Regions from separate parts of the Homo sapiens genome. Here regions 1 and 3 are each linked to region 2. Evidence: promoter capture Hi-C in human tissues and cell types (Jung and others, 2019). All regions are on one chromosome and are shown on one strand. The core of a region is centred on a gene start or on the middle of the fragment in contact, and the rest is flanking DNA. Distances in the headings are between cores, read along the strand shown.

Region 1 (3,893 bases), core at 803-3,302, 63 kb before region 2:
TGCTGTGTTCAGTGTCTTGCATGAGGAGAAAGATGTCCAGCTTTAAACTTTTTCCATCACAGGTTAATAGCATAGGAAGAATTTTGTGGAAGGTCTGAACTAGGCCCCATATTTTAAAAGAAATACACTTATTACCTTTAAAATCATATATATTCACTTCCAACTCAAATGGCAAACGAAGCACCTCCCACTCGAAGCCCAGCTGAAATATTTTTAAATGTGTGTTAAATAAAAAATTTCTGGCCGGGCGCGGTGGCTCACGCCTGTAATCCCAGCACTTTGGGAGGCCAAGGCCGGTGGATCACGAGGTCAGGAGATCGAGACCACGCTGGCTAACACGGTGAAACCCCATCTCTACTAAAAATACAAAAAAAAAAAAAAAAATTAGCCAGGCATGATGGTGGGCGCCTGTGATCCCAGCTACGGGAGGCTGAGGCAGGAGAATGGCGTGAACCCGGGAGGCAGAGCTTGCGGTGAGCCGAGATGGCACCACTGCACTCCAGCCAGGGCGACACAGCGAGACTCCGTCTCAAAAAAAATAAAAAATAAAAATAAAAAATTTCTAAAGCAATTTTGTAGGGTATTAACAATTTGCAAAAGTAATCCTATTTGCAATATCTTTTCAGGTTGCACATACAGAGGAAGAGATTGTTTAAAATAATAAAAGCATTGATGGTAGAGACAAAAGGAAGATACCTTAGCTGATAGTTAACAGACAGAAACACAATGATGAAAGAACACAACAGCCAAAAATACCAGACAGAAGGGGACTCTGGAAATGTCACCAAAGCCACAATGACCAGGCTATTCAAAGAGGTGTGATCAGCATCAGCTGGCTACTCAGGTCCCTTGCCTTCTCATTTACTACCTCTAAACAAAGCACGTTCCTCTGGCAGGAGAGGTATTTATACCCCAGCATAGACCTAGGCCTGTCTCTGAATAGAGTGAGCCACCTGCCTATTGTGGGGACACACCTTGTCTTGTGGCCTGAGATGAGGAAGGCAGGCCTGGAGGTGACTTGTGGATCTCCAAACCTGACGCTGGAAGGGGGAGCCAACACTACCCAAGGGTAAGATGTTCTAAAGCTCATGACCCCAAAATACAGCCTCCCTGCTTTTGTTTGTTTGTTCCAAGAACATAAGGGGTTCACCCTAGCCACTCCCACCTACGCACCACAGGGAAGCTGGTCTGTTGACATCCCTGGCCACTGGCAGCACTTGTAGAAGCCCATAGTTGCCCATCCCAGCCAAGACCTTTAAGACCTGCTCAGGAATCAGACCTTTCCAGCTGCAGTGGAAACCCATTTGGCCACCTATACTATTCAGCCTCCTCCTTGTCCATAAAAATGAACAGACAGCCAATGACCACCCAGTCATTTAAGGAAATCCAACAGCAAGAAAGGAAAGGACAAAGATGTAAATAGAAAGCGAGGCAGAATCTGAGCACAAGCGAACACACTAGCCCTAGGAGAAACAGATAATTCACGGATGAGAAACCTTCAAACAGATAATTCATGAACAGAAAACATTCAAAGGATATTACATCATATTATGTTAAATATTACAACACAGTCTAGTTCACCAAAGAACAAAATTGGCAAGGCAAAAAATGGAAATCAAAAATAATCAAAGACCTACTGAAGAAGTAAAAATAAAATCTGTTGAAATTAGTAATTTACATGGGCCAGGGGCGAGGATAGGGCCTGGTTCATCACAAAGGGGTCACTCTGAGTGATGAAATGTTCTACATTTTGATCATGGTCGTGGTTACTTGACTACAGGTGTTTATCAAAACCCATAGAACCATATTCTAGAAAGAATAAATTTTACTGTATAAAAAGTCTGAAAAGTGATTTTTAAAAATGCTTGTTGAAATAAGTGCCCAGCAGAACAAGCAAAATATCTTTATCAGACATACCCTAGACAGATTTCAGCATCCCAAAGTAGAACTTCAGAAAGCTTCTGGAGAGGGAGAAAAAAGTTTGCCTATAAAGTTATCTTGGGCTGGGCACAGTGGCTCTTGCCTTTAATCTCAGCACTTTGCGGGGCCGAGGCAAGCAGATTGCTTGCCTGGGCAACATAGTGAGATGCTGTCTCTTAAAAAAATGAGAGACAGCGAGCGAGAGAGAGCGAGAGAGTGAGAGAGGAAGTTATCATATATCTTATCAGCAAAACTATGCCTTTAAAATTTAGAGGGAAAATACTTTTCTACCCTATGAAGACAAAAATGTGACATTTTCAATCAAGCAATGACTCAAAGTTACAACCCACGTACACCATGTTTTTAAAAATTAATATAGGATATTTTTTATGAAAACAAAAATATTCAAGAGAGAACTAAATGGTATAGCAAATTCAGTGACAGCTAAAAATGCCCTAAAATGGTGTTTTTAAAACTTTGATTAGAGCCAACAGTAAGAGATGCATCTCCTCACAGCTTAGAACACACACAGATGTGTATAAAATGCAAGCTTCAAAGTAATATCTAGACTTATATTATGTGATGCTCTATAAGTTTTCCTATTCTATTCTAGTATATTCCTTTTTAAAAATACTGTTCTTTACCCACTAAATCAACGTCCTGACTCAGTAGTGGATCTAATCCATAGATTAAAAAACAGATTTCACAGAAGCAAGCAAGCAGAAACAAAACCATGAAGAATATGAGGATCTACCAGTCCATGACATGTGGGATACTCCTTTTGACAGGGAGAGGTCTAATGGATTATGGAGTTGGAGAATATTTTTGAAATACCTATTGTGTTAGTTCTTCTCATGTTGCTACAGAAAAATACCTGAGATTGGGTAATTTATAAAGAAAAGAAATGTATTTGGTTTATGGTTCTGCAAACTGCACCGGAGGCGTGGCACCAACATCTGCTTCTAGTCAGGCCTCAGGAAGCTTCCAATTATGGTGGAAGGCAAAGGGGGAGCAGGCGGGTGTGTCACATGGTGAGAGAGGAGGGAAGGAGAGAAAGGGAGGGAGAGGGAGGGGGGAAGGAGAGAGAGAGAGAGAAAGAGAGAGAGAGAGAAGGTAGTATCAGGCTCCTTTAAACAATCAGCTCTGGCCTGAACTAACAGAGTGAGAACTCACTCATTACCACAGAAAGGCAAATCTCCAACACTGGCGATCACATTTCATCATGAAATTTAAAGGGGACAAATACCTAAGCCATATCACCAACTGACTTTTTCTTCCTCCCACTATTTCCCCCTTTCTATCTCCCCAATGTCTATCTGAAGGAAGTACCCTTTCCAGGGTTCAGTCTTAGGAGGGATGACAGTGTAGAAAATGGAAGTGGCCAGCTAGGTTCTGCTTTGGTATTTCCTAACACCTAAAGACATTAGGTAGAATATACTAGGAGCTCCTTGTGGGGAAATCATTATAAAGAAAATGGCTCTAAGAGATTATCATTGAGATTAAGAGAGGAAAGGAATAAAGAGAATAAAGAAAGGGGAACTTTGTACACCTAGGCCTGGCTCAGATCCCCCAAGCCCAGGCAGATAGGTCATTGACAGCCTCAACAGTAGTGGCCCATGGGGACAAGGAAGCCCGTGTCCACAGGAACTTCATGTGTGCTCCATGGCAGTCTAGAACCACAGGAGTCAGAAAATAAAAAAGTCAATGGAAACAGGAAGAAGGAATCTTTCACAATAAACTATGTAGGCTTGGGATTGAGAACCAGGCAATAAAGCCAAGATGTGGCCTCCTGCAAGTTCCTGGCACCATGCAAGTCCCCAGTGATTTAGCCACTATTTAAAGGAAAAGGATGTGGAGACTCACATTTACTCATATTAAATTCTCATAAAACAAATTTATATTAAGTTTTCAAGCCAGAATAAGCACTAGAATAAAAATTGTTATGGGAAAATAAGTTACATTTCTGGTACATC
Region 2 (3,916 bases), core at 235-2,734:
ATTAAATCCATCCCATGCTGAAAGAGTTGGCTACCATATACCTTGATCAGAGCTGTCCTGTTTTCACTGTCAGTGAGGTTAAGCTGGCATTTTCTGGCCACCAGGTCAGCTACCACTCCTGGACGGCCATGGGCACACGCCAAAAGTAGAGCAGTCCTGTGAGAATGAGAGGTCGCTTTAGGCAATTGTAGTGCACAGTCCCAAAACATACAACGACGCATGCAATTGTAAACATCCAATAGTATGTTATCCCTCTGCCTTCAGAACAAATAGTTACTTTTCTTGTGAAGAAAGGCAAGGTTTCCACATCCCAGGTGCTGCTGAGGCTGCCAGGGTAGAAAGCCCAGTGCCCTTGGTGACAACACTCACCCCACCCCCACCCCCACCCTTGCATCGTACCCACATCCTACCCAACTCTACCCCCAACCAGTCCCCTCACTCCATCCAACCCCCACCCCAGCCAACCCTCACTCCACTCGACTCCCCACCACAGTCCCTCACCCAACTCTACCCCCCACCACAGTCCCCAACCCCACCCACCCCCACACCAGTCCTGCACTCCATCCAACCCCCACCCAACTCCACTTCCCACCAGTCTCCCACCCAACTCTACCCCCACCACAGTCCCCCCAACATCCAACGCCCCCAGCCACTCCCCACCACAGTCCCCCACCCCATCCCACCCCCCACCAGTCCTCCACCCCAACCCACCCTCACTCCACTCCCCACCACAGTCCCTCACCCAACTCTACCCCCACCACAGTCCCCCATCACATCCAACGCCCCCCAGCCACTCCCCACCAGTCCCCCAACCCATCCCACCCCCCACCACAGTCCTCCACCCCTTCCAACCCCCACCCAACTCCACTTCCTACCACAGTCCCCCACCCAACTCTACCCCCACCACAGTCCCCCATCACATCCAACGCCCCCCAGCCACTCCCCACCACAGTCCCCCACCCCACCCACCCTCACCTGACTTCCACCCCACCCACGCCTTCACCCCACACCGTATCTCCCCTACCCCGAAACCAGGAACAGGGGCTTCTCCCATATCCCCAGGCCTCCTCCCGGCTTCCTGTTCCCCTTACCTGTTCTTCTTGTCCCTGTCGTTCAAGTCATTCAGCCTGAGCAAGATGCTCTCCATCACCTTGTTCACATCACCTGCGATGGCAGCTTTGTGGATCATGCCCAGATCCTTCTGCCGGACTCGGTACCCGGGATTTGAGAAGCCATCCTTGTCACGATTCTTCCTCCAGGTAGCCATGCGTCTCCTGCAGGCCGCCAGGAACGACCCCCTGACCTCCATCCTGAAGCCAGAGATCTTCTCCCAGGCTGAGGAACGGCTTTAAGACACCTCAGCTCCCACTCGTTTTCTGCCTCTCTGGAGCGCAGCACCAGCACGTAACCAGGTCCAGCCGCAACCTCCGTCAGGGACACTCCAGTCTCCAGCTGCTCGGAGGAGCACCTAGCCCAGCAGAGCCGTTAGGCACCAGCGCGCATGTGCACCTCAGCCGGCCCACGAGGCCATCCGCGGAGAAACAGCCCTGAGCCTCGCGCCCTCCATTCGCGGGCGCCACGTGGTGGCGCACCCGCCCTCCCCCCACCTCCCACCGCCCCCCGCCTCCCCGGCCAGAACCCTTAGGCACCAGGGCACATGCGCACCTCAGCCTGCCCGCGAGGCCCTTCGCGGGAGCTGCGCACTCTCGCGAGCGCCGCCTGCTGGCTGGCTCACGCCTGTGATTCCAGCACTTTGGGAGGCCGAGGCAGGCGGATCACGAGGTCAAAAGATCGAGACCATCCTGGCTAACACGGTGAAACCCCGTCTCTACTAAAAATACAAAAAATTAGCCGGTCGTGGTGCCGGGCGCCTGTAGTCCCAGCTACTTGGGAGGCTGAGGCAGGAGAATGGCGTGAACCTGGGAGGCGGAGCTTGCAGGGAACCGAGATCACGCCACTGCACTCCAGCCTGGGTGACAAAGCGAGACTCCGTCTGGAAAAAAAAAAAAAAAGAGCCAGGCTTTTAGTGCCCGGCAGGGACTCAGGAGGAAGCCGCAGAGCCATAGATCTGCCTTGGTTGGTTCTGCCCTAACTTTGCCCTGTGCTACCCTGGGCCTGTTCTACCCTGCCCTGCCCTGCCCTGCCTTTGGCTCTGCCCTGATCCTGCTTTGGCCCTCACACTGGCCCTAGTGCAGACCTGGCCCTAGCCCTAGCCTTGGCCCCGCACGGCCATAGCCCTAGCCCCCTCCAGGACCCCTCCCCAGTGCCAGCTGCAGGCCCTGGAGATGCTGCAGTGAGCCCGAGAGTACAACGCTCTTCAGCCTGGTGTGGCACGGCACAGCGCAGCGCCCAGGCCCTACTCAACTATGGTGTCACCACGGACGCCAGCACACTGCTGGCGGGACAATGCCACCTGCTGGAGCAGGACGAGAACAGAGACACGCCACTATACCTGTCCATCATCCATGGGCCGACCAGGGTCATCAAGCACATAGCCCATGTCATCTACCACACCCAGCACCTTGGCATCGTCAACCTCACCAACCACCTGCACCAGACACCCCTGCACCTGGCAGTGATCACCAGGCAGATGAGGGTGGTGAGCTTTCTGCTTCAGGTGGATGCAGACCCAGCACTGCTGATTGGCATGGAGACTCAGCCATGCACCTGGCACTGCAGGCAGGCCCTGGTGCCTCTGAGCTGCTGCATGCACTGCTTTGGAGTGGAGCTCCCGCTGTGCCTCGGCTGTTGCACATGCCTGACTTTGCAGTACACCTGGCGGCCCAAGCCCAAAGCCCCAAGTGCCTGGATCTGCTGGTGGACAGTGGGGCTGAAGTGGAGGCCACAGAGTAGCAGGGGGCCAAACAGCCTTGCATCTAGCCACAGAGATGGAGGAGCTGGGGTTGGTCACCCATCTGGTCACCAAGCTTCGGGCCAATGGGAATGCTCACACCTTTGTGGGAAACACACCCCTGCACCTGGCAGCTGGACTGGAGTCCCCAACCCTCACCCTCCTTCTGAAGGCTAGTGCTGACATCTATGCTGAGAATGAGGAGCCCCTGTGCCCACTGCCCTCACCCCCTACCTCTGATAACGACTGGGACTCAGAGGGGCCTGAGAAGGACACCCAAAGCAGCTTCCAGGGCCACACGCCTCGACCTTATCCACAGCACCAAGGTGAAGACCTTGCTGCTAAATGCCACTCTGAACACCATGGAGCTAGCTGCCCCTGACCCCACCCAGCCCTGCAGGGCCAGGGCTGTCACTTGGTGACACAGCCCTGCAGAACCTGGAGCAGCTGCTAGATGGGCCAGAAGCCCAGGGCAGCTGGGCAGAGCTGGCAGAGCGGCTGGGGCTGCGCAGCCTGGTGGACATGTACCAACAGACGGCCTCGCCCAGTGACAGCCTCCTGCACAGCTATGAGCTGGCTGGCGAGGACTTGGCAGGTCTGCTGGAGGCGCTGTCTGGCATTGGCCTAGAGGAGGGAGTGAGGCTGCTGAGGGGTCCAGAGACCTGAGACAAGCTGCCCAGCACAGCAGAGATGAAGGAAGACGGGGGTACGGGAGCCAATCAGTGGAGCAGGAGGCAGAGAAGCTGGCCCACCCCCTGAGCCACCAGGAGGCCTCTGCCATGGGCACCCCCAGCTTCAGGTGCACTGACCTGCTGCCTGGCCCCAGCCCCCTTCCCGGACCCCCCTGTACAGCATCCCCACCTATTTCAAATCTTAAATTTAACACCCCACACCCACCCCTCAGTTGGGACAAATAAAGGTTTCTAATGGGAAGGGAAGGACCCCTCCTTCCCAACTTTGGAAAAAAAAGCCAGGCGTTTCCCCAACCCCTCATGCTCTGGCCAATCCACCTGTGTTCCTCAATCAGCCCGGGCTCCTGGAACACAGCCTGCTCTGCCTGCGCGC
Region 3 (4,203 bases), core at 400-2,899, 43 kb after region 2:
AGAAAATGTTGCTAGCAAACCTACCTTTAAAAAGATGACTAGAGGAGGTTCTCTAAATAGAAAGTATATAACGCAGGAAGGCTGGGAACACAGGAAAGAAAGAACATTGGAGGTTGGCAGAAATAGGGGGAAATGTAATAGAATCTGTTTCTCATGAGTTTCTGACATCATATTTGATGTTTGGAGAAAAATGCTCTGTATGTAGAGGAAATACTTAATTCTATTTAAAAGGGGGGAGGGTAAAGGGATCTAAGTAGAATGAAGCTTTCTACATTTCACTTGAAGTGGTAAAATGCTGACTAATAGACTGTGATAAGTTACATATGCACACTTTAATATCTAGAACTGCTAAGAAAACGATAAAGAGTATTGTGCTTAGAAACACTGCAAATAAACAAGATGGAATCTAAAAAATGTTGATATAACCAACAGGAAAATAAGAAAATGGTAATAGATGAATGAAAAACCGAGAAAACAAAACAAATAAAATAGCAGCCTAACATAGCAATATTTATCTTAAATGTAAATAATCAATGTGTATCAAAATACAAATTGACAGAGTGGAAAGAACAAGAAACATAATTCTAAAATATTTATAGGAAATTCATAACATAGTTAACAACATGAGTTGATAAAGAATAGAAAAAGATATACCATACAAACATTATTCAAATCAAAGTAAGAGTGGCCCCATTGATATCACATAAAGTCGACTCTAGAGCAAAGAAAACTCGTGGGCAAAAAGATCACTATATAACGATAAAAGTATCAATCCAACAAAAATGCAGTTATCCTAAATATGTCCCCACCAAACAAAAGAACCTCAAAGTACACAAAATAAAACTGACTGAGCTGAAAGGAGAAATAGGCACATTTTAAATTCTAGTTGTAAGTCTGACCACCTCACTCTCAGCAGTTGGTAGAATCACTAGGCGTTAAATTACTAGCAGACATAGAACAGGAGAGCACCATCAACCAATAGGGTAGAAGCAACATTTACGGAACAGTGCCCAACAGCAAAATATACACTTTTTCTCAAGTGCTCATGGACTATTCAGGAAGATAAACCATATCCTGGGCCATAAACCAACCTCAGCAGGTATAAAAGAACTGAAATCATTCCGAGTGTGTTTTCTGGCCATAATGAAATGAATCAAACTATGAATTAATTCATAGTAGAAAGACAACAGCAAAATATCCAACCACTTGGAAATGAAACAACAGACTTCTAAATAATATTTGGATCAAAGAAAAAGCCTCAAAATAAATTTTAGAAATTCATGGAATTGAATAAAGCCCTGCTGATAGGGAAATTAACAGCACTAAATGTTAACCTCAGAAAAGAGGAAAGGCCTCAAAACGATAATTAACTTTCTACTTCAAGAAACTAGAAAAACAAGGAGGGACGGGACAAGGTTGTGGCTGATCCCAGAGAGGTAGTGGCAGCCACCGAGGCAGAAAGTGGGACTGGCGCACACCCTGAGCACATCGCAACCCCTGTGCACCCAGCTGTGAACCGGGGGAGCCAGATCAGAGGCCGGTGCCAGCTGGGCCAACTCCAACAAGGACACATCCCTAGCTGTGGGTAGTAAGTCCAGTTATAAATTTTTCTCCCTTCTTCTGTGGATAAGCTGGAACAGATCCCTGAATTGCACTGATACCGAAGATGCGTGCATTATAGAAAATTGTTGTCAAGCACCTTAGTGGCCATTTTGAACCTCAAAGCTCAGAGGAAGCTAAAGGTTTGCCACTTGAAAAAGGGAACTGAGATCTGCAACTACAGCTACTCCAATAAGATAGTGGCTGTGGAGCTCCAAAGGCAAAGGCTAATAGCGTGCCTGGGAGATCCTTTGCACTTCCACAACATTTGGGACTTGAAGGTACTGCCTGGGATCAGGAGATCCTCCAAGCCCTGCAGGCTTGTGAGCACTACCAATAGTTACTTGGCCTAGGCAGGGAGTGCTGTGACTTTTCTATTTTAAATTTATACAATTTATTCAGCAAAGTAATGAGATATTGTGGTTGCAAGTTTCAGTATTTGCCTAGCTTCCCTTTTCATTTTGCAGAATTAGAACAACCTCAAATACTTCAAACTGCATTCCAAACCAACGCATATAGCAGCTAAAGTTCTGAGGGCATTTAAGTGGAGTTATTCTATGAAAGATCATTTTAGATTTTTTGGAGTGGTGAAAGTTTAGGATGGAAATGAAAAGGTAAAAATATTGTATCTGCTCTGCCTTTTCAGGATTTCAGGTTTTTTAACAGAGGAAGGGTGAGAGATGCCTGTTTCCAGGTCATTGTGCCATGGTCACACCTGTTGAATAGCTTCCAAAGGGGGTTGGTCAACTGACCATCTGCAGTGAAATGCCCTGATATTCCTGGGTTGGCTTTACAGCAAGTCTCTAAATGCTGGGAGCACATAGTCAGTTCTCACTGTGCAGACTTTTCTAGAGGAGCTAGTGTGTAGATTGTATTGTTACTAGGCAGAGGGAAAAGGTGAGGAGGATAAACTTTTCTTTAAAATCTCTTATATGTCCATCCTGGACCCTCAGTCATGTGGGATCCCAGTCATGCCATATTGGGTGTGCTCCCAAGTGGAGCAGGCTGCTGTTTACCAAAGAGAGAGAAGGGCCATGGCAAGAGGCAGTCTTGACCTGCCCCACAGGCTTATGACACGGGACCAGAGGGGTCTCTCTCTGTCTCCTTCCAGAAACCAGCTTTGGACTCCATCTCTGAGGGGGCATATTTGGATAAAGTGAGTGTTAATGGAGGAAAAAAAATGTCAAAGGGTACATGATAGATTTAGAACCCTGAGCTGGGGTTTCCTGGTAATCAAAGAGAGAGTTGCATTTCAAGTTCTGTGTGAAGATATTATTAGTTTTGGTGCCTGCCTGTTGACTTTTACACTTGTGGTGATTTGGGAACTCTAATTTACTTTGCCAGGTTTCTTTCATCTTTCTCTGGGATTGGTAGCTCTAGAAGATGTTGGCAATTTGCTTCCTTCTTTCAGCCTCAGTTTTCTGTTTAAAATGAGGCAGTTTGGAAGGGTGGCCTCTGAAGTCCTGGAGCCATCAACCCCTGCTCCCCTTTGGGTGACCCTGGCAAGGCTTGGCACTTTCACTTCCAGACACAGAAAGCTCTGTGCTTACCTGGGTAGAATCTGATGTGAGCACCCCATAGAGGGAGGACTAAGGATTCGTGGTTGAGAAAAATGAAAAGAGTTTATGTGGGTTTGCTGAGTAATCATCATGGGAAAATTACTCATGTCTATTTTTCCTTTGCTTATTTCATTGCTATAAGCATCTCTTTCTCTTCCCTTACACTTTAACCCCCCTGAGTCCCATCAAGTCCCAGTGTCACTGGCAGGCCTCAGGCATGTGCAGGTCCGGCAGGGAGGCAGGGAGAGCTAGAAGTACTGAGTTGGCCATTAGTAGAACTCTTACTGCCATGCCAGGAACCTAGATGGAGACTGCAGAGTGGATGGAACGGTAGGAGGCAGCTGGCAGTGAGAGCTGCTCCATGCCTGGCTACAGGAAGGGAAGAAGGAGGAGTCACTTGCCACAGGCTGGAGGCTGGAAGCTGGAGGCTGGAGCCTGCGGCACCACTGCTCACCTCGCTGTGGTTGGTGGCAAAGACTGAGACTGCAGCCAGCCAGAGCGTAGAAGGGCAACAGGGTATGTGCGCTATCCGGGGCTGCTGGTTGGGGGTGTTATTCTGGGCGTCACTACTTTAGGTGTGCTATCTGGGGCTGCGCTGCCTGCATGCTACGGGGAGTGGGGGTGGTTGGGGGCACTATTACCCTCTATACAGCTGGGGGCTGCGGGGCTGGCCGCTTGAGGGCGCTATCCGGGGTTGCACGGCCCTTGGCAGGGAGCAGATTGAGGAAGCTCTCCTGGGCTGCACTGCCTTCATTGGAGGTCGGGTTGGGGGTGCTATCCTAGGCTGTATTGCTGGCAGCAGTGGGGCAGGTTGAAAGTGCTACTGAGCAGGTTGGGGGCACTATTGGGGTTACACTGCCGGTGGTGTGGGGGTTGGGGGGACTGGTGGGGCACTGACTGGTCTGGCTGCATTGCCCATGGTGGGGAGCGAGGTGGGGGTGCTATCTGGGGCTGCACTGCCCACGACGGGGGGCTTGTTGGGTGCACTATCCATGGCTGCACTGCCCATGGTGGGGGGTGGCTTGGCAGCACTACTAGGACTGCA

What was found. Contacts are between HindIII fragments. The study calls those that stand out against the background at their distance.
Region 1: a contact is called between a fragment that was not itself captured here and the fragment with the promoter of ANKRD62 in region 2, in 2 of the 25 tissues and cell types used here (H1 embryonic stem cells and spleen).
Region 3: a fragment that was not itself captured here is called in contact with the fragment with the promoter of ANKRD62 in region 2 in 1 of the 25 tissues and cell types used here (adrenal gland).

What each region holds. Positions count from the first base shown.
Region 1 is chr18:12,155,182-12,159,074 of GRCh38, reverse strand. It overlaps a transcript of ANKRD62 not described here. Among named protein-coding and RNA genes, the nearest start is that of C18orf61, 44 kb to the left of the region's middle. The HindIII fragment of the contact is 5,580 bases long and covers 1-3,893 here.
Region 2 is chr18:12,091,411-12,095,326 of GRCh38, reverse strand. It overlaps ANKRD62 (ankyrin repeat domain 62), which reads right to left and starts at 1,484. Exons shown (of 14, transcript NM_001277333.2): 1 at 1,092-1,484; 2 at 42-156. The coding sequence starts at 1,309. It also overlaps the pseudogene LOC100533852. The HindIII fragment of the contact is 7,146 bases long and covers 1-3,551 here.
Region 3 is chr18:12,048,043-12,052,245 of GRCh38, reverse strand. No RefSeq gene overlaps it. Among named protein-coding and RNA genes, the nearest start is that of ANKRD62, 44 kb to the left of the region's middle. RefSeq lists an enhancer at 1,496-1,685. The HindIII fragment of the contact is 3,055 bases long and covers 122-3,176 here.